7 separate regions of the Homo sapiens genome follow, and regions 2, 3, 4, 5, 6 and 7 are each linked to region 1. The links are contacts of gene promoters, found by promoter capture Hi-C in blood cells and fetal thymus (Javierre and others, 2016). All regions are on one chromosome and are shown on one strand. The core of a region is centred on a gene start or on the middle of the fragment in contact, and the rest is flanking DNA. Distances in the headings are between cores, read along the strand shown.

Region 1 (2,717 bases), core at 184-2,683:
AGCTGCTCAATTTTGCTGTCACAGCATGAAAAGGGCCACAGACAATAGGTAATTGAGTGGGCATGGCTGTGTTCCAAAAAATAACTCCACTTATAGGCACTGAAATTTGAATTTCCTGTATGTCACAAAATATTGTTTTTCTTTTGATTTTTTTTCACTCATTCTTAGTTTTTTTCACTCATTCTTAGTCCCCGATCTGGACTATGAGGGATACCCATAGTATCTTGGTATCTAGACTACCCAGATACCACTGGCTCTACATGGTGGGGGCAGCCAGTGGATGCACCTTTCCTGGGCACCTACTATGTACCAAAGATGCCGGGTGGTCCTGCCCTCCTGTAGCAGGGTCATATAGGCTGACTGGTCAGCATGCTCACCGGGTCTGTTTCAGCATCTCTCAGGAGGCCCAGGCTGCAGGCTTGGGAGTCATGCAGACTGTGAGATGGCTGCTCTTGTGCACATATGAGTTCCCCCTGCACCTGTTCCCAACAGCCTTCCCAGGAGACTGGGGCGTGGGCATGGGTGGCTTCCACGATTGGGAAACCAGGGGTGATGGAGGCACCAAAAGGGGGTGAGGGGCACCCCTCTGAGGACCCTAGGGAAAGAGCTCACCTGGAGATACCACCAGATAGAATCTGACGGACTTAGAGACAGAGTTGTCAGAAGGGCGGTAGATTCTACACCAGTAATGTCCTGAGTCTTCCTCTCTCAGATCAGTCATGGTGACAGTGAAGAAGCCAGCATCAGGGTCGTCCCAGATTGTGAATCGAGAGGTCCAAGCCATCGTCCTGGGCTTGGAGCTGGTGACTAACCTGATGCACACAAGTGCTGAAGCCTCCTTACACCAGCCTTTCTTCTCGTAGAGACTGCCCGTGGGCGGGTACTGGCATCTCACGGTTAGCGTCTGCCCTGCCACACTTTGAAGTACCTGAGCCTTGGATTGTGCCTGAGAGCCTGGAGAATGATGAAGTAACGCATAGGTCAAGGCCACGCGCACAACCTGCCTCACAGCAGGCCTCTGGCCACAGAGCCACCTGCTCCCTGACCCTGCTGTCCTGACAGTCCCCACCACACCCATCTCCTCTGCTCCCTGGGCTCCTCCTCCCCCTCACCTGGGAACAGCAGCAGCAGCAGTAGCAGTGGGTGTAGGGCTCGCCAGGCCATGTGGTCCTTTTCCTGTGCGCTCATGGGAGGGGACACCTGGAGAAGACTGGGGAGAGGGAATTGGGAGCTGGGCCTGATTCTGCTGCTCTTCCAGCACGTCTGATAGAAAAATGAGACAGGCTGAGGCCTGGGTTGGGGAGATGGGAGACTGCAAAGGGCAGATTCTGTGGGCACAGGGAAGTGGGGATCTCCAGCTGTAGGTGAGTCTGGGTCTGGTGGGCTCGGCGCTGTCTGGCACACAGCTTCCCAGGCCTCTGTAGAAGATGCCTGCTCTCCCCTGTGCCCAGCTGCCCCTCCCCACCATGACCTACCCCTGAGGGAGGAGCTGAAAAGGCCAGGAGGAAACTGTGGGCGAGTTATGGACTGCTTCCCCCTTGCTCCCTCTGTGTGCTGCCTCTCTTCTTTGCAGGGCCCTAGCTTTGCCGCCCTTTCCAGGGAAAGGCAGGCTGAGGGTGGATGACAAACTCAGGGGCACTTGGAACCCTGATCACAAGCCCCAAGCCTCACTGGTCACAGGATGGCCAGGGACGTCATGCCCAGGCCTCCATGGTGGGTCAGTGATGTGCTTCCACTCTGGGAGTTTCGTGGGTGCGGGAAAGGAGAGGGGAGAGGAGGTGGAGATTCAAAACCAGCAAGGGAGGCTAGGGAGGGTCCCTGGCAAAGGTCGGGGAGGGGAGGGTGGGAAGAGCACACGGAGCATGGGATGCATCAGTGGGGTGGGGTAGAGGGAGCCCAGGAACCAGGACCTGGCCTCATCTCTGCATCCTGGACCTCTGCCACTTAAGGACCCTGGAGAAATATTGTTTAATTAAAACATAAACAGATGAAAGACTCTAGCATATTTTTCTTTAGTTAATGTCAGCACTTTGAAGATTCAGTTTTAAAATACGATGCAATTTACAAAGAGAACGAGCTAATATATCTTAGGACTGGTAGAGACACTGTGTGTAATTGCAGTTGCACCACTGGGGGCTCTGCTGGACTGGCGATCTGCTGCCGGGAGCTCTGTGAACAGAGGTAATAACTGAGACGGGAATTGGAACTTGTCAAGTGGACTCGATTCCAAGTCCACTGCTTTGCCTGCCCCTGGACTCCTGCTCTCCACTCCATCTCAGTACACTGCCCTTCTCCTTACAGTAGGAGTATGCAGAGACTGAGAATGGGAAAGGCAGAGGGGTATGCAAAAGGAGGACACAGTAGGGCTATCAGATGTTGGCGCCCAAGGGCCCAAGGTGGGAAAGCAGGCTGGAGCTCCAGAGCTAGAAGACAGCTCAGGGAGCGATGCCCGCCACTCACTCACACAAGCATTATTTACAAAGCATTCTCATGCACACTTTCTCAAGACCCTCAGCAGGTTCGCGAGGGAGACATTACTTCTCTTTTTCACAGATGTGAGAACTGAGGCCCAGATATGGTCAGCCACCTGCTCAGAGTCACACAGGACCAGAACAGGCCTCCTGACTTCGGTCTGGAGCCTTCCGGCTGGTCTGGTTGAAATGCGACCCACAGACATGACAGGAAACCAGGGGTGAGAAAGAGGCTCCCACTGAATT
Region 2 (2,760 bases), core at 129-2,628, 270 kb before region 1:
TCTCTGCTCAGGCACCTCTCAACATCCAGCTCAAGTGCTTCCCTGGTGTGAAGTTTCCCAGGTTACCCCAGGGAAGTTGCACACATCCTTTTCTGGGTTCCCATCCCCAAACTGAATGTTGTATTGTCATTCTTCTGCTTATATATCTGTCTATATCTATAAGCTTCATATATATATATGTCATTCTTCTGCTTATATATGTATCTGTTTGGAGTTCTTTGAGGAGACAGACTGTGTCTTATTCATCTTGTACTTTCAGAGCTCAGCTTGGTGCCTTGTATGCAGAAAGTTCTCAATAAATTTTGAATGTATGAATGATTAACCTCGGTTATACTTCATAATTTGTTGCTTTCTATTCTTTTCTATGCAGCTGCCTTCTCTGTCACCATATTAATAACAATTTTTATGGGAAAGACTTTTGTAAAATTAAACTCCTTGGGAGTGTCATAAGAAGACCCTTTTCTATATGGGGAGTGCTTACAGCAGAAGGGAGTCAAGCATATTCTTTTGTATGGGGCCTTATCTTGACTTATTTTACTTCTTTACATATCGGTGTTATTTTCTTTCTTTCTTTTTTTTTTTAATTTTTAAATTTTTTTAGACGGAGTCTTGCTCTGTCGGCCAGCTGATTCTCCTGCCTCAGCCTCCCCAGTAGCTGGGATTACAGGTGCCTGCCACCACATCTAATTTTTTTAAATATTTTTTTTTTAGTAGAGATAGGGTTTGGCCATGTTGGTCAGGCTGGTTTTGAACTCCTGACCTCAAGTGATCCGCCTGCCTCGGCCTCCCAATGTGCTAGGATTACATGTGTGAGCCACTGCGCCCGGACAACCTATCAGTGTTCTTTTTCCAGCTGCTCTGTTAGCCCCTCAGGGTAGGGCCTGTGCCTACTCATTGCTTTCCATATTACCTGTAACACCCAGCCCCAGGCTGGGTGTAGAATCGATGCTCAATAAAGGTTTGTGGATTGACTGGGTGCGCTCTGGGATAGGGAAAGATACACACGTCAGTTTGGGGTGATTCTCCAATGCGGAAGCAAAGTCAGGAAGCTGGGGGTGGGTCGTGGCAAAGGTGTGACAGCTGAGGACCAGAGCGGGTTGTGGGAGAGGGCACCCGGGGACAGCCAATGACAGCTGAGCAGTCTTTGCAAAGCAGGAAGCAAGAGAAGGATGAGGAAGGAATTCCACGGAAGAAGTAGGAGAGAAACTTGTGTGAATGGTGTAGTGGTTGGGTGGGGGTGGCGACTGCAATAGAGGAGGGGTGCAGGGAGGTGAGAAGGCTCCTGGGGTGAAGGCCTTAGCAGGTCTAACAGGCAGGCCAGCCCTGTGTTCCCTGCCACCTCCCTTGCCTCCTGTTCACACAGGTGCTCCACACTGCGGCCCATCTGCCAGAGCCGCCTTTGTCTTAACTATTGAGGAGCCCCTGAACCGCCTCATACCCTCCTTCAGTGTCACCAAGCCCAGGCCTCTGCTTGGGGATGGGATTCCCACCCGCTCTTGACTTCCCACTGCCAGCTGTGAGTCCCATGACTGTTTCTAGGCTGCCCTTCCCAGAAGGGGTCCCCTGTTCCTGAGTTCTCGGGGAGATAACAAGGAAGGAGACATCAGAACCAGGGGAACTGCTGAGTCTGCTGGAGAAGGGCTGGCTCATGTATGCACTCATAAAGAGGTATATAATCTGAGCCCATTCTGCCTTTTCCCTTGCTTTTTTTTTTTTTTTAATTGAGACAGAGTCTCGCTCTGTCTGCAACCTATGCTGCCTGAGTTCAAGTTATTCTCATGCCTCAGCCTCCCGAGTAGCTGGGACTAGAGGCGCACACCACCATGCCAGGCTTTTTTTTTTTTTTTTGTATTTTTAGTAGAGACAGGGTTTCGCCATGTTGGCCAGACTGGTCTCGAACTCCTGACCTCAAGTGATCCACCCGCCTCAGCCTCCCAAAGTGCTGGGATTACAGGCATGAGCCATCATACCCGGCCCCATGCTCCTTAAAAATACACTGAGGCACATATAACCATCACTGCTGAGAAAATTAATAATAAAACATTTTCTTGACATTCCTTGGCTATGTCCCACCTCCTCTCAACCTCTGGGGGTCTCCTCTCTCTCTCCCTTTGCTGCTTACTAAACTCACTGAAAGAGAGACGTACACCTGTGCCTCTACTTGCCCTCCACATACAGACTCCCTAACCCAGGAGTCCCCAACCCCCAGGCCGTGGACCTGCTCCGTGGCCTGCTAGGAACTGGGCCGCACAGCAGGAGGGGAGCGGCTGACAAGGGAGCATAACCACCCGAGCTCCGCCTCTGTCAGCTCAGCGGTGGCACTAGATTCTCACAGGAGTGTGAAGTCTATTGTGACCTGTGCATGCAAGGGATCTAGACTGTGTGCTCCTTATGAGAATCTAATGGCTGATGATCTGAAGTGGAACAGTTTCATCCCGAAACTATCCCCTCACCCCCACCCTGGTCCATGGAAAAATTGTCTTCCACGAAACCAGTCCCTGGTGCCAAAAAGGTTGGGGACCGCTGCCCTAACCCACCATTCTGCCCTCACTCTTCTTAGAAACTATTCTGTCCTAGGGCATCAGAAGCTTCCAGTTGCCAAGTCCATGGAAGCAGCTCCCAGGCCTCGAATTTTGGGAACCCTTTGGCCTCTGTCACAGTGAACCCTCAGGACTGCCCTCTCTTGTGGTTCTCCTTCCTTGCCATCCCCGGACTATCCCCACCTTCCTTTGTGGCCACATCTCCTGCCCCACCACCAGA
Region 3 (2,700 bases), core at 78-2,577, 330 kb before region 1:
CTGGGTGCAGTGCCTCATGCTTGTAATCCCAGCATTTTGGGAGCCTGAGGTGGGTGGATCACGAGGTCAGAAGATAGAGACCATCCTGGCTAACATGGTGAAACCCTGTCTCTGCTAAAAATACAAAAAATTAGCTGGGTGTGGTGGCACGTGCCTGTAATCCCAGGTGCTCGGGAGGCTGAGGCAGGAGAATTGCTTGAACCCAGGAGGCTGAGGTTGCAGTGAGCAGAGACAGCGCCATTGCACTCCAGACTGGGTGACAGAGCGAGACTCCATCTCAAAAACAAAACAAAACAAAACAAAACAAAACAAAACAAACAAACAAAAGAACTAAAAGAACTACCATTTGATCCAGGAGTCCCACTCCTGGGTATCTACCCAGAGGAAAAGAAGTCATTATACGAAAAATATACTTGGACACACATGTTTATAGAAGCACAATTCACAATTGCAAAAATGTGGAACCTGCCCAAATGCCCATCAGTAAACGAGTGGATAAAGAAACTGTGGCATATATATGATGGCATACTATTCACCCATAAAAAGGAATGAATTAATGGCATTTGCAGCAACCTGGAGGGATTGGAGATTATTATTCTAAGTGAAGTAACTCAGGAATGGAAAGCCAAACATTTTATGTTCTCACTTATAAGTGGGAGCTAAGCTATGAGGATGCAAAGGCATAAGAATGATACAATGGACTTTGGGGACTCTTGGGAAAGGGTGGGAAGGGGGTGAGGGATAGAAGACTAAAAATTGGTTCAGTGTATACTGCCTGGGTGATGGGTGCACCAGAATCTCACAAATCACCGCTAAAGAATTTACTCATGTAACCAAATACCACCTGTTCTCCAAAAACCTATGGAAATAAATTAAAAAAAAAGAACTAAAAACATGCTATGTACAGAAAGAAAGAAAGAAAAAAGTCTACTTCATAAAAAATAAAATGGCTTTATTGAGATATAAAGCCATTTATTGCACATATTTAAGTGTACAATTTGATAAGATTTGATGTATGTATCCACCCATGAAGCTATCACCACAGTCAAGATAGTGAACACATCCATTACCCCCAAAGGGTTCCTTATGATCCTTTGTGATCCCTCCCTTTTGTTTCTCCCTATCCCACCTCCAACCCCAGGCAACTACTGATGTGCTTTCTGTGCGATAGATTAGTTTGTACTGTTTAGAATTTCACAAAACTGGAATCATAGAGAACGCACCTATTTTTCTCTGGCTTCCTTTAGTAGGCATAATTAGTTTTGTCTGTGAATCTAATGAGATGCATAACTGAGACACATTCATGTTGTTGCATGTATCAGTATTTCTTTCCCTTTTAATGGCTGAGTAATATTCCATTGTATGGATATACCAGAATTTGTTTATTCATTCAAATTTAAAGACATTGGGTTGTTTAGAAGTTTGACTATTGTGAATAACACTGCTATGAACATTTGTCTACAAATATTTGTAGGGACAAGTGCTTTCATTTCTCTTCAGTAAATACCTAGGAGTAGAATGCCTGGGTCATGAGGTGGGTGTATGTTCAACTTTTTAAGAAATTGTTGGTCGGGCACGGTGGCTCACGCCTATAATCCCAGCACTTTGGGAGGCCAAGGCAGGTGGATCATGAGGTCAAGAGATCGAGACCATCCTGGCCAACATGGGGAAAACCCGTTCCCTAAAAATACAAAAAAAAAATTAGCTGGGCATGGTGGCACGAGCCTGTAGTCCCAGCTACTTGGGAGGCTGAGGCAGGAGAATCACTTGAACCTGGGAGGCGGAGGTTGCAGTGAGCCGAGATTGCGCCATTGCACTCCAGCCTGGCGACGGGGTGAGACTCCGTCTCAAAAAAAAAAAAAAAAGAAATTGCCAAAATGTTTTCAAAGTGATCATATCATTTTACATTCCCACTAACAATATATGAGAATTCCAATTCTTCCACAGCCTCAATAATATTTGGTGTGGTCAGTTTTTAATTTTGGCCATTCTAATAGATATATAGTGATATCTCATGGTGGGTTTAATTTTAATTTCCCTAATAACTAATGATGTCGAACATCTTTTCATATGTTTATTTGCCATCTGTATTTTTTCTTCGGGGAAGTGTCCAAATCTTTTGCCAGTTTTGTTGGGTTGCTTGTTTTCTTTATTGAGTTTTGAGAGTTCCTAATGCATTCTAGAAACAAATCTTTTATCAGATATCAAATCCTTTACCACTTTCCTGGTAAGGAGTTCAGAGAGCTCCTCCATTTTTCTCGCAGAGAAACTAATGCTAAGGGAAGGAAGTACATCAGTCAATACGTTTCCAGCTAAAAATAATAGAAAACCCAACTAAAGTGCTTAAGAATGATTCTATAACAGGATGTTCAGAGATAGTGTGGTTCCAGGGTTGGTTAATTCAGTGGTGAAGATGTCATAAGGAGTAGATAGTTTTCTTCTTTCCACTCTGGAGTCCTTGAGAGTTTGTCTTGACCTCTTAGACTGGCTACCTTCAATAGGCCCAAGGTGGCTCTTTTTTAAAAAAATTCATTCAAATAATATTTTTTTGAGCAGTTAAGGAGATACAAAGGTGATTTAAAACATGGCCAGAGGTGAGGCAAATGCACAAGTAATAGAAAGCAAAGGGCAAGTTTCACTGAATCACAGCAGTCAGAGAAAGTGCTTTTGGGAACCAAATTGTTTCCAGCCTGAAGAGCC
Region 4 (2,809 bases), core at 80-2,579, 340 kb after region 1:
GAATATTAGCCAACATGAGAGTTTACTAGTTCTTCAGGTTGTCTATGACGATGTAAAAAACTGCTCCAAAGCTTTGTGGCATGAAACAACCACTATTTTATTGTGATCCCAAATTCTGTGGGTCAGAAGTTAGAAAAAAGCACAGAGGTGGATCTTTCAGGGGAGGACTGGAATGGGGGTGCTTTCAACCACTGGGGGCTGGAGGATCCACTTCCAATAGTTTTTTCACTCATATGTCTGGCAGCTGGGCTGGGCTGGCTTACGGGTGGGCTCAGCTGAGAGAGCATGGAGTTCTCAGGATTGTTAGACTTTTTTTTTTTTTTTTGAGACAGAGCAAGGCTGGAGTGCAGTGTTTTAATCTTGGTTCACTGCAACCTCCGCCTCCGGGATTCAAGAGATCCTTCCACCTCAGCTCCGGAGTAAGTAGGATTACAGGTGTGCACCACCATATCCTGCTAATTTTTTTGTATCTTTAGTAGAGACAGGGTTTCACCATGCTGGCCAGGCTGGTCTTGAACTCCGGACCTCCGAGGTGATCCACCCACCTCGGCCTCCCAAAGTGCTGGGATTACAGGCGTGAGCCACAGCACCCAACCCATTGGACTTCTTACATGAAGGCTCTGAGAGAAAATAAATGTCCTTTGAGAGCTAGGCTGAAGCTGTATGGCCTTCTATGCACCCTGCCTTGGAAGTTACATAGCATTCATTCCAAATGTACTATTGGTGGGAGGTGCCAAGGACCCATTCAAATAAAAAGTAGGGGACAAGGTCTGCTGTGGTGGCTCACAGCTGTAATCTAAGCACTTTGGTAGGCTGAGGTGGGCGGATCACCTGAGGTTGCCAGTTTGAGACCAGCCTGACCAACATGGAGAAACCTCATCTCTACTAAAAATACAAAGTTAACTGGGTGTGATGGCACATGCCTGTAATCCCAGCTACTTGGGAGGCTGAGGCAGGAGAATCGCTTGAACCTGGGAAGTGGAGGTTGCGGTGAGCTGAGGTTGTGCCATTGCACTCCAGCCTGGGCAACAAGAGCGAGACTCCGTCTCAAAAAAAAAAAAAAAAAAAAAGAAAAAGAAAGTAGGGGACATAGATCTACCTCTTGATGGAAGGAGGATAAAAATATTTGCAGTCATGCTTAAAACACCACACAGGAAAAAAAGAGTAGTCTCAGGCCAGGACTTGTACATTTTAGACTGACTCTGCCTCTCACTGGCTGTGTGACCCCAGGATTAGGTGCTTCTCCTCTCTGGGCTCTGGTCTCTTCATCTATAAAAGGAGGGCTTCACCAGGTTAATCTACATTCCCTTCTAATGAGGCGCAGCAGCATAGCACATGCTCCGTAATGACCTATTGATGAGGAGAGAGCTGAATTTTAACTGTAGGAAGGATCTCCAATGGAATCATGTGGATCATTAAGTAAAATAGGAGTTTTTGAATTTTCACACTGAAAGAAACTTGAGGAAATATAGTCTGGCTCCCTTGTTTTATAAATGGGGAAATTGAGATCTAGAGAAGCTACAGGTCTTGCCCAAGTTCTGGAAGTAAGTTAATGAGGGCTATTAAAGAATAGAAGCTGGAGGCCAGGGCGCGGTGGCTCAGGTCTGTAATCCCACCACTTTGGGAGGCCGAGGTGGGTGGATCATGAGGTCAGGAGTTCAAGACCAGCCTGGCCAAGATGGTGAAACTCCGTCTCTACTTAAGAAAAAAAAAAACCCACAAAATTTAGCTGGTTGTGGTGGTGGGCACCTGTAATCCCAGCTACTTGGGAGGCTGAGGCAGGGAATTGCTTGAACCCTGGAGGTGGAGGTTGCAGTGAGCCGAGATTGCACCACTGCACTCCAGCCTGGGCAACAGAGCGAGACTCCATCTCAAGAAGAATAGAACCTGGGTCTCTGAACCACACATCCTGTGTGCCTGACCCTCCTGATATTCCATTTGGAATTTCATTCAAACATCCACTTCCAGGAAGGCATCTCTTACATAAATTGAAGGATATCTGTAAAAAGCCATCTGGAAATTTTCCCTGTGTCCAACCTAAGAAGTTAATTGGGCTTGAGGGTGTGTTGGCCAGATCTGGCTGTTTCGCTGGACCTTGCTCAGGACTGGAGCAGGATGACAATGGAGCTGTGAGACTGATAGGGAAGAGGTGTTTGCTTCTGCTTTGGGTCCTATTTTTTTCATGCCGACCATGTTCAGAAATGGCTCTTGTGCATACATAATATGGTGACTGAGTTAAATAATAAATGATAAGAGAGGCCATGGGAGGTGGGAAAGCAAAGGCAAGGGAGAAGGAATCTGATTTCAGCTGAAATTGGAAAGGACAGTGAGCTGCTGAGAGAAGGAGACGAGATAGAAAGGCAGAAGAGCCCAGAAGTAACGAGAACAAGAAAAGAGTTGGTGAAAGGAGCTGCGTGACTTATTTAAGGTCCCAGGAAGGCTGAGAGCTAGAGGGGCTGAAGGGAAGGGCAAACTGAGTGTGGAAATATAGGCATGTCATTGGGTACTGGAACAAGTGGGAGGTCCTGAAGTCCCATTTAGTGCTAGGGAATAAAGCAACAAAATAGACAGTAGGCCATGAAGCTTTGGTTCCTCATGATAAATGGGCTTTTCCAGAGCTGGATCAATCACAGACAGGGCTGTAAACAGAAACAACTGGCTAGGGCTGATTTTGTGATATTGTTTGGACATGGGCTGGGAACAAAATTTATCTGTGCAAAGCTATCCATCAGGGTACTGGGAAGGATGGAGGAAAGGAAACATTGAGGAAGCCAGGTGGGTTTTTCTGGGTGGAGCCTTACTCCCCTAT
Region 5 (2,700 bases), core at 126-2,625, 290 kb before region 1:
TTGGGTGAGGACAGGGCTGACTTGGCAGCTGCCCACTCCCTGCCATACCTCTGGGATCTGGCTGCCCCAAGCAAACTATAAGCCATGACGTTGATGCCTTTTTCACGTTTCCATGTGCTCTTGGAGCTGAGGGCAAGAAGGGGTGACTCAGCCGTGACCTCCTATGGGCTGGTAACTTCATTCTGCTCCAAGAAATAGGACATCCCGGTGGCTCTGCCAAAAGGGCCATGATGGAAATCAGGGCGTAGCAACTGAGGCAGGGACTGAGAGACAGGCACGAGGCCCGTGCTGGCCCCTCCCTCCTCAGTTCCCCAGGGTGGAGCGCTCAGTGGCAGAGTCACCGCTATACCTATACTTACGGCGACCATATTTCCCAAACCAAAAGTTCTTACATGTGGTTAGACACATATGACTGTCCCTATGAGGGAAATGGGAGAGAGAATTAGACATAGTGTCTATCCTAAGGTTTTTCAACCTCAGCACTATTGACATTTTCGGGCTGGATGATTCTTTGTTGAGGGCTGTCCTGCTCATTGTAGGATATTTAGCAGCATTCATGGCTGCTACCCACCAGATGCCAGTAACACCCCCAACCCCCAGTCATGAAACCAAAAACGCCTCCACTAGACATTGCCAAATGTCCCCTGGCCTTGGGGGGAGGCAGGGGTTCAAAAGCACTCCTGATTGAGAAGTACTGGTCTGTTCTTGAAACCCAGCGTGTATTCTATTCTGGACTGTCTAGGGGCCTGGAGATGGTGCCCAGTCTGATAGAGAAATATGGCCCTTGTCCCTCAAGGGAGACAGGCACAGTCCTGTCTCTAGTCTAAGGGTAGAGGTAGAGTCCTGCCCTTGGGGAACTCCTGAGCTAATGGGGGAGATTGGACAGTAGTCCCTAGACAGGTTGAAAACACAGTGGTCAAGAGCATGGACTTTGGTGCCAGAATGCCTGAATTCAAATCCTGGGTCTGCCATTCATAGCATAAGTTACCTCTTTGTGCCTCAGTTTCTTTATCTGTAAAATGGGCATAGTGATAGCATCTTTTTTTTTTTTTTTTTTTTTTGAGCCAGAGTCTCCCTCTGTTGCCCAGGCTGGAGTGCAATGGCGCAATGGCGGCTCACTGCAACCTCTGCCTCCTGGGCTCAAGTGATTCTCCTGCCTCAGCCTCCTGAGTAGCTGGGATTACAGGCGTGCGCCACCACGCCTGGCTAATTTTTGTATTTTTGGTAGAGATGGGGTTTCACCATGTTGGTCAGGCTGGTCTTGAATTTCTGACCTTGTGATCTGTCCGCTTCGGCCTCCCAAAGTGCTGGGATTACAGGCGTGAGCCACCCCACGCAGCCGATAGCATCTGTTTTTAGAATTTTATTACATTTAAAACTTTTTGTAACAAACTTTATTTTTTAGGACACTTTTAGATTTACAGAAAAATTAAGAAGTACAGAGTTCCCATCTATGTTACTGCCAGTTTTCCCAATTATTGACATTTGTTTCAATTAACGAACCAATATTGATACATTATTAGTATTGTTTTAAAGCCCCTAGTTAATTCATATTTTCTTAGTTTTTACTTGATGTTCTTTTTCTATGTCAGGCTCCCATTCAGGACATCACATCATATTTAGTTGTCATGTCTCCTTACGCTGCTGTTGGCTGTGACAGCTTCTTAGACTTTTCTTACTTTTGATGACCTTGAGAGCTTTGAGGAGCACTGGGCAGGTATACTGCAGGATGTCCTTCTGTTGGAATTTGCCTGATGCGTTTCTCATGATTAGACTGGGCTTATGGGTTTCTGGGAGGAAGACCACAGAGGTAAAGTACAATAGTCATGGGCCAGGCACGGTGACTCACACCTGTAATGCCAGCACTTTGGGAGGCTGAGGCGGGCGGATCATGAGGTCAGGAGTTCGAGACCAGCCTGGACAACATAGCCGGGTGTGGTGGCATGGACCTGTAGTCCCAGCTACTCAGGAGGCTGAGGCAGGAGAATCACTTGAACCCGGGAGGCAGAGGTTGCAGTGAGCTGAGATCGCGCTACTGCACTCCAGCCTGGGTGACAGAGTGAGACTCCGTCTCAAAAACGACAACAACAGAAAACAATAGTCATCAAATCATATCAATAGCACATCCTACGAACCATGACTTATAACCACTGATGTTAACCTTGGTCACTTGGCTGAGATCGTGTTTATCAGGTTTCTCCACAGTCAAGTTACCCCTCTCCTCTCCAAACTGTACTCTTTGGAAGGAAGTCACTATGTGCAGCCTATGCTTAAGGAGTCGGGAGCTCAGAGGGTTTTGGGGCATGTTGAATAAGGTTAGAAATGTAAAGTCCTTAGGGCAGTGCCTGCTGTGTGGCAAGCCCTATATAATGATTTACTGTTAGTGTGATGATGCCGAGACAGTCTGGAGGGGAGATCAGTGTCCACATAGAAAACATGCTTAGGACAGCTTGATAGATAGTGTACTGCATTAGGCCAAAGATGCCCCAGGAGTTTATGAGTATGTTACCATACAGGGCAAGAGGGACTTTGTAGATGTGATGAAGGGCGTGGAACCTTGAAATGGGAAGATTAGCCTGGATTATCCAGGTAGGCCAATCTCATCACATAAATCTTTAAAAGTGGAGAGCCTTGCCGGGCGCGGTGGCTCACGCCTGTAATCCCAGGACTTTGGGAGGCCGAGGTGGGTGGATCATGAGG
Region 6 (2,700 bases), core at 187-2,686, 290 kb after region 1:
CAGGTGTCCACTAGGCTGGGCTCTGAACTGGGAAGTGGGGTAAGGGGAAAGATAAGAGCCCCAGGGAGGTTGGAGACTGTGGGATTAGGGGCTCCCTTCACCCAGGAACCAAGGAGCTGGGGCAGAGGAGGATTTTAAGGACAACTTTGGAGTTAGAGGATAAGAGTTTGGAGTTGGGATTCTGCCCTTTCATGCTGAGTTTCTGCACATGGCCAAAAATCTCTTTAGCTTGGCTCATGCTGTATCAGGCGGTCGTGCTAGCCCAGGGCTTGGGACACTGCCCAAATTAAGCTTTCTTCTAGGGCTAAGTCCTAAGCTAGAGGCATGGGTTAGTGGCTCCAGCTTGCCTTGGGGAGGTCAAAGTAATACCCTAGGCATCATACATCTTCTTGGAGGTTCCACCTAACTTCTAGAATTAGCTGGTAATGAATAAAATTGGTAGCAAATATTACAATGCATATATTATTATGAGATGATAATAATGATAATGGAAGATAATGTCTGGGGTGCCCACTTGCCAAGATCACACAATGGTGGTAGAGCTGGGTAAGAACCCATGTATTTTGGGTTCCGAGCCTATCCTCTGTCCATCAGTATTTATAGCTAGAAGTTGCACCAGGTTACCAGTTAATAGATAACAGAGTCAATATCCAACCCCAGGTTGGTCTGACTCCATGGCCAGAACTGCAAATCACCATACCCTATTGCTCTCACTCCCCAAGATGACCTGATTTCATGGGTCTGGAGTCCCAACAAGTGTCTCAGGAGGTCTCTGGGGCACACTTTGAGAAGCAGTAAGAAGCAATACCCTGCAGCAGCACATCTCAGTTTGGCTGCACATTAGAACCAGGAGTTTCCAAAATGATTAAAGCCTTTCCCTTCTTTTTTCAGTTGTTCCAGAGTAGGGGTGGGGGTAGGGGTGGCGGCAGGTGCTGGTCAGCATTTGTTTTTAAAGTACAACAATGTGTTCATTTATTCGTTCAATTAATCAACAAATAAAAACGTACAAGCACCTACTCTGTGCTCTGCCCTGTCCTGGGGCTGGAGATACAAAGGTGGGTGGGACACTGTGTGTGTCCTCCTGGGGTGCCTGTGACCTGACCCACTGGGCTGAGCATGCCCTTGGTGGAGGAGGGGAGGCTGCAGACTCCCTCTCTTGGGTGAGCTCTGGAAAGAGCCACTCCTCTTCTCAAATTATGCTGCCTTACTGGCTTCTCACCTGAGAGCATACAGTTTGTTTCAGCTCTAAAACTCAGCTCACAAAACCTCAGAGTGTCAAGGCTAAACGGGCCCTGATAAACGATCTGTGCCCAAAGCACTCAAACTAGCTAGCAGCTGACAGAAGTGCTCAGGAGGTTTTAAATCTGAAGATGCCAAGAGCCCACCCGCAACGTTCTCATTTATGGGTCCTGAGTGCGGTCTGAGGAACATGCATTTTTTTAAATAGCTCCAAACAGCTGTGGTACAGCCTTGGCTGCACCTGAGGAGGTCTTGGGAAGTTTTAAAAATGTTGATGCCCAGGCCTCCTTCCTGGAGAGGCTGATGAGGATTTTTAAACAATTCTGGTGATCCCCATCATGCAGCAGGTGGAGACCCCCTACTGCAAGGTGTCTGGGCCTTCCAGCTGACCTTGTTAAAGATTTGAGGAGGCTTACTCAAGGGCGGTCACTCCTTGCCACCATCAGGGCTTTGAAACAAGGACAGAAGAAAATCAGAGAAGGGAGGAGTCAAAAATTAAAAAGCCACTAAGAAGGTTTAGAAAAAGAGAAGCAAGATAGAAGGCTGAACAAGAAGCTCCTATGGATTCACCTGTCAGCACCCTGAGGCTTAATCTCTTTTTTTCAATCTTCTTTGCCTTATTCTAATAGTAATTAATTGATGTAAAATAAGGAAAGCATAGGAATGTATGAAAGCAAAAAAGAAGGTCTATAATCTTATTTATCAGAGATGTATAACATATATATCATACAACCATAGTATATGTTATAACTAGATATTGCATCATAAATCTGATATATAAATTAATGTATAATATATACTATATAACCTTAACATGTATAATTAGTATCCCCCCCTTTTTTTTTGAGATGGAGTCTCACTCTGTCACCCAGGCTGGAGTGCAGTGGCATGATCTCGGCTCACTGCAACCTCCTCTTCCCCGGGTTCAAGTGATTCTCCTGCCTCAGCTTCCTGAGTAGCTAGGACTACAGGTACTCACCACTGCACCCAGCTAATGTTTGTATTTTTGGAGGCAGGGTTTCACCATGTTGGCCAGGCTGGTCTCGAACTCCTGACCTCATGATCCACCCGCCTTGGCCTCCCAAAGTGCTGGGATTACAGGTGTGAGCCACCACTCCTGGCCCCCTAGTACCCTTTTTTAAGGTGTATTTTTCTGTTTTGGCTTTTTTGTCACTTTTAAAAAGCCTTTTGTTTTTCAGGTAATTAAACATCTGAGTGCTAAATCTTTATGCCAGGTGGGGAGGCATGTGAATGGAGGCGAGCTGGTGTGCCCACCCCTCCCCCATGGGCCTTCACACATTCATTCACGCGCACACACTCACACAGAGGTCCAGAAGCTTCTATCCCACTCTGCCGCCCTAGTCATCATATTATGCATTCAAATACACACTTCACATCATACCTTCAGAGTTACTAATAGGATTTTATTATTTAAGTGTAAAATCAGTTTCCCCCCCTTTC
Region 7 (2,700 bases), core at 118-2,617, 360 kb before region 1:
AAGTCAGTAATAATTTTGTATATTTCCTCCCAAGAGGTTTTTCTATACATATTTTTACATTGTGATGATCAGATTTTATATACAATTTCCCCCTACATCCTACATTTTGTCACCTGACATATCCTCATGTTATTTATTGTAAGTATAGCAGTCCATCAGGAGGGACACACCGTAATTTATTTAACTATCCTATAACTGGACATTGAGGTTAGTTTTGACTTTTTTCCATATAATGTGAAGTGCATCTTTATGCACAACATCCTTTTCTGCATCTATGATTACTTCCTTGGACTGGTGAATATTTTTCAAGGCTTTGACATATATTGCCAAATTGCTTTTCCAAAGAGGTTGTACCAAGGTATGCTCTGGCAGTTGTGTTGAAGGTGCCTGGTACCAAAGGCATTTTAAAGTCATAGACACACTTGGGGAAGGGGGGGGGTTTGGAGAAGGGGTGGTGTTGGTGAAGGTAGTTTCCCTAACTCTTCTTTTAAACTATTTAACGTCTGCCCTCATTCTTTTTTTTTTTTTTTTTTTGAGATGGAGTTTCACTCTTGTTGCCCAGGCTGGAGTGCAATGGTGTGATCTCAGTTCACTGCAACCTCTGCCTCCCGGGTTCAAGCAATTCTCCTGCCTCAGCCTCCCAAGCAGCTGGGCCTACAGGCATGTGCCACCACACCTGGCTAATTTTTGTATTTTTAGTAGAGACAGGGTTTCACCGTGTTGCCCAGGCTGGTCTTGAACTCCTGACCTCAAGTGATCTGGCTGCCTCGGCCTGCCAAAGTGCTGGGATTACAGGCGTGAGCCACCATGCCAGGCTGGTCTGCCCTCATTCTTATGTGATTTTAAAATGAGAATACAACACACATACAGAAAATTATAAGTTGTAAGGGAGCAGCTGTACAAATTATTGTAAATATGACACTCTCATGGCACCAACACCCATATCAAATTACAAAACTTTCCTAATCCTCTTACCCACCAAGCCATCTTGTGTCCCCTCCCAGACACTCCCCCAAGGGTAATTAGGATCCTGAGTTCTAACATAGTAGATTAATGTTGCGTTTTTTTGAACTCATATACGCAGAGCATGCTGTATACACTTTTGTGCCTTGGTTCTTTCGTTAACATTATGTCTGCGAGAGTCATCTATGTCATGTGTAACAACAGTGCATTTGCTGTCATTGCTTTGTAGCATTTGATTGTATGGATGTACCACCACTTCAATTTATTTTATTTATTTATTTTTTTTGAGATGGAGTCTCACTCTGTCACCCAGGCTAGAGTGCAGTGGCATGATCTCGGCTCACTGCAACCTCTGCCTCCCGGGTTCAAGCGATTCTTCTGTCTCAGCCTCCCGAGTAGCTGGGACTACAGGTGCACACCACCACGCCCGGCTAATTTTTGTATTTTTTAATAGAGATGGGGTTTCACCACGTTGGCCAGGCTGGCTTCGAACTCCTGACCTCAAGTGATCTGCCCGCCTCAGCCTCCCAAAGTGCTGGGATTACAGGTGTGAACCACCATGCCTGGCCCACCACTTCTTTATCTATCTTTCTTTAGTGGACATTTGGGTGGTTTCCAGTTTTGGTTCCTATACACGCAAACATTCTAGTATATGTGCTTTGGTGAACACGTGGATGCTTTTCTGGTGGGCATGCATAGGAGGGGGTCCATGGGTCATGGAGTGTGTTTTCAGCTTCCTGCTCCAAGTTTTAAAGGATCATTTAGAGGGCAGAAAAATCCCCAAGGCAGTTCAGGCCTCACAAGCCACTGAATGGACTGGCGTCAGCTGACAATAGTTTGAGGGCACTGCATGAAGATGGTACTCCCCTCAGAAGCCCTTGTCTGGGGCTGTGGTAGAAACTGAGTGGGGCCCTGGCCCTCCAGCTCCAAATGCTTGGTGGCTGCTGGCCCTGGCTCTGTGCCTCTGCTGGCCACTCGGTGTCCTCACCCAGGGACCGCGGCTGGCCTAATGACCACTGCACCGAGCAGGGCAGGGCTTGGGCCAGCCCAGGTGGAGCTGGGGGGATTCCTTCCCCTTGGCGACCCACCTTTGGACATGACTGGAAGCCCTGGAAGCAGGTTGGGCCCCCCCATAAACCCCCAGAAGCTGCTGTGCTTCCTTTCTCCTGTTAACAGAATCACACAAGTCGCACATATTCCCACTGTAAGAGCTGAGTGCTTCTCCAGTGGAACGAAGAACTATAAAAATCCCTCTTTATCCCTCCCCCTCCATTGCCCCTTCCCACTCCCCTCCCCAGCGGTAACAACTCTGAACAGTTTGGGGTGCTGGGAGAGCCCAGAATAGTAGTTAAAGAGTGGGGGCTGTGAGCCAGCCTGCCTGGATCAAATCTCCATTCTGCTACTTAATCAGCTGTGTAACCTTGAGTGAGTTCCTTCACCTCTCTGTGCCTCTGTTTCCTCCAGGAAAAATGGGGATAATACTAGTACTCAGCTCATTGGGTTGTTGGGAAGAAAAAACAGAATTAACATTAGGAAAAGCACATTGACCAGCCCTGACCCATGGCAATCATTCACGAAGCATTTAGCGGTTGGTACTCTGATCTTCCTGTTGTCTACACATATACCATTTCATGATTCATGGGCTGGTTCATACTAAGGTGTAAATGACTGACAGGCAAGGCCCACACACAGACTGGATGAAACCAGCTCTGGCCTGACCAGAGGAGACCGGGATCC

Evidence for each region. The method cuts DNA at HindIII sites, captures the fragments that hold promoters and counts their contacts. A CHiCAGO score of 5 or more calls a contact.
Region 2: a fragment that was not itself captured here is called in contact with the fragment with the promoter of NCR2 in region 1 in 2 of 17 cell types (M1 macrophages and fetal thymus); the score reaches 5.8 in M1 macrophages.
Region 3: a contact is called between a fragment that was not itself captured here and the fragment with the promoter of NCR2 in region 1, in 1 of 17 cell types (M1 macrophages). The highest score is 5.5, in M1 macrophages.
Region 4: a fragment that was not itself captured here is called in contact with the fragment with the promoter of NCR2 in region 1 in 1 of 17 cell types (neutrophils); the score reaches 10.8 in neutrophils.
Region 5: a contact is called between a fragment that was not itself captured here and the fragment with the promoter of NCR2 in region 1, in 3 of 17 cell types (M1 macrophages, M0 macrophages and M2 macrophages). The highest score is 7.4, in M1 macrophages.
Region 6: a contact is called between a fragment that was not itself captured here and the fragment with the promoter of NCR2 in region 1, in 1 of 17 cell types (neutrophils). The highest score is 8.6, in neutrophils.
Region 7: a fragment that was not itself captured here is called in contact with the fragment with the promoter of NCR2 in region 1 in 1 of 17 cell types (fetal thymus); the score reaches 5.2 in fetal thymus.

Annotation. Positions count from the first base shown.
Region 1 is chr6:41,334,324-41,337,040 of GRCh38, reverse strand. NCR2 (natural cytotoxicity triggering receptor 2) reads right to left here and starts at 1,433. Exons shown (of 5, transcript NM_004828.4): 1 at 1,113-1,433; 2 at 613-954. The coding sequence starts at 1,164. RefSeq lists an enhancer at 2,686-2,717. The HindIII fragment of the contact is 13,900 bases long and covers 1-2,717 here.
Region 2 is chr6:41,607,426-41,610,185 of GRCh38, reverse strand. No RefSeq gene overlaps it. Among named protein-coding and RNA genes, the nearest start is that of MIR4641, 10 kb to the right of the region's middle. The HindIII fragment of the contact is 2,425 bases long and covers 166-2,590 here.
Region 3 is chr6:41,667,806-41,670,505 of GRCh38, reverse strand. It overlaps the pseudogene NPM1P51. Among named protein-coding and RNA genes, the nearest start is that of MDFI, 31 kb to the right of the region's middle. The HindIII fragment of the contact is 7,923 bases long and covers 1-2,700 here.
Region 4 is chr6:40,993,797-40,996,605 of GRCh38, reverse strand. The region is part of intron 1 of LOC101929555 (a long non-coding RNA gene); the gene reads left to right. Among named protein-coding and RNA genes, the nearest start is that of UNC5CL, 44 kb to the left of the region's middle. The HindIII fragment of the contact is 2,512 bases long and covers 74-2,585 here.
Region 5 is chr6:41,627,597-41,630,296 of GRCh38, reverse strand. No RefSeq gene overlaps it. Among named protein-coding and RNA genes, the nearest start is that of MDFI, 9.5 kb to the left of the region's middle. The HindIII fragment of the contact is 7,037 bases long and covers 1-2,700 here.
Region 6 is chr6:41,044,280-41,046,979 of GRCh38, reverse strand. It overlaps TSPO2 (translocator protein 2), which reads right to left. Exons shown (of 4, transcript NM_001010873.3): 4 at 2,643-2,700. Among named protein-coding and RNA genes, the nearest start is that of TSPO2, 3.2 kb to the right of the region's middle. The HindIII fragment of the contact is 2,285 bases long and covers 294-2,578 here.
Region 7 is chr6:41,695,243-41,697,942 of GRCh38, reverse strand. All of the region lies in intron 1 of TFEB (transcription factor EB), which reads left to right. Among named protein-coding and RNA genes, the nearest start is that of MIR10398, 37 kb to the left of the region's middle. The HindIII fragment of the contact is 4,275 bases long and covers 1-2,700 here.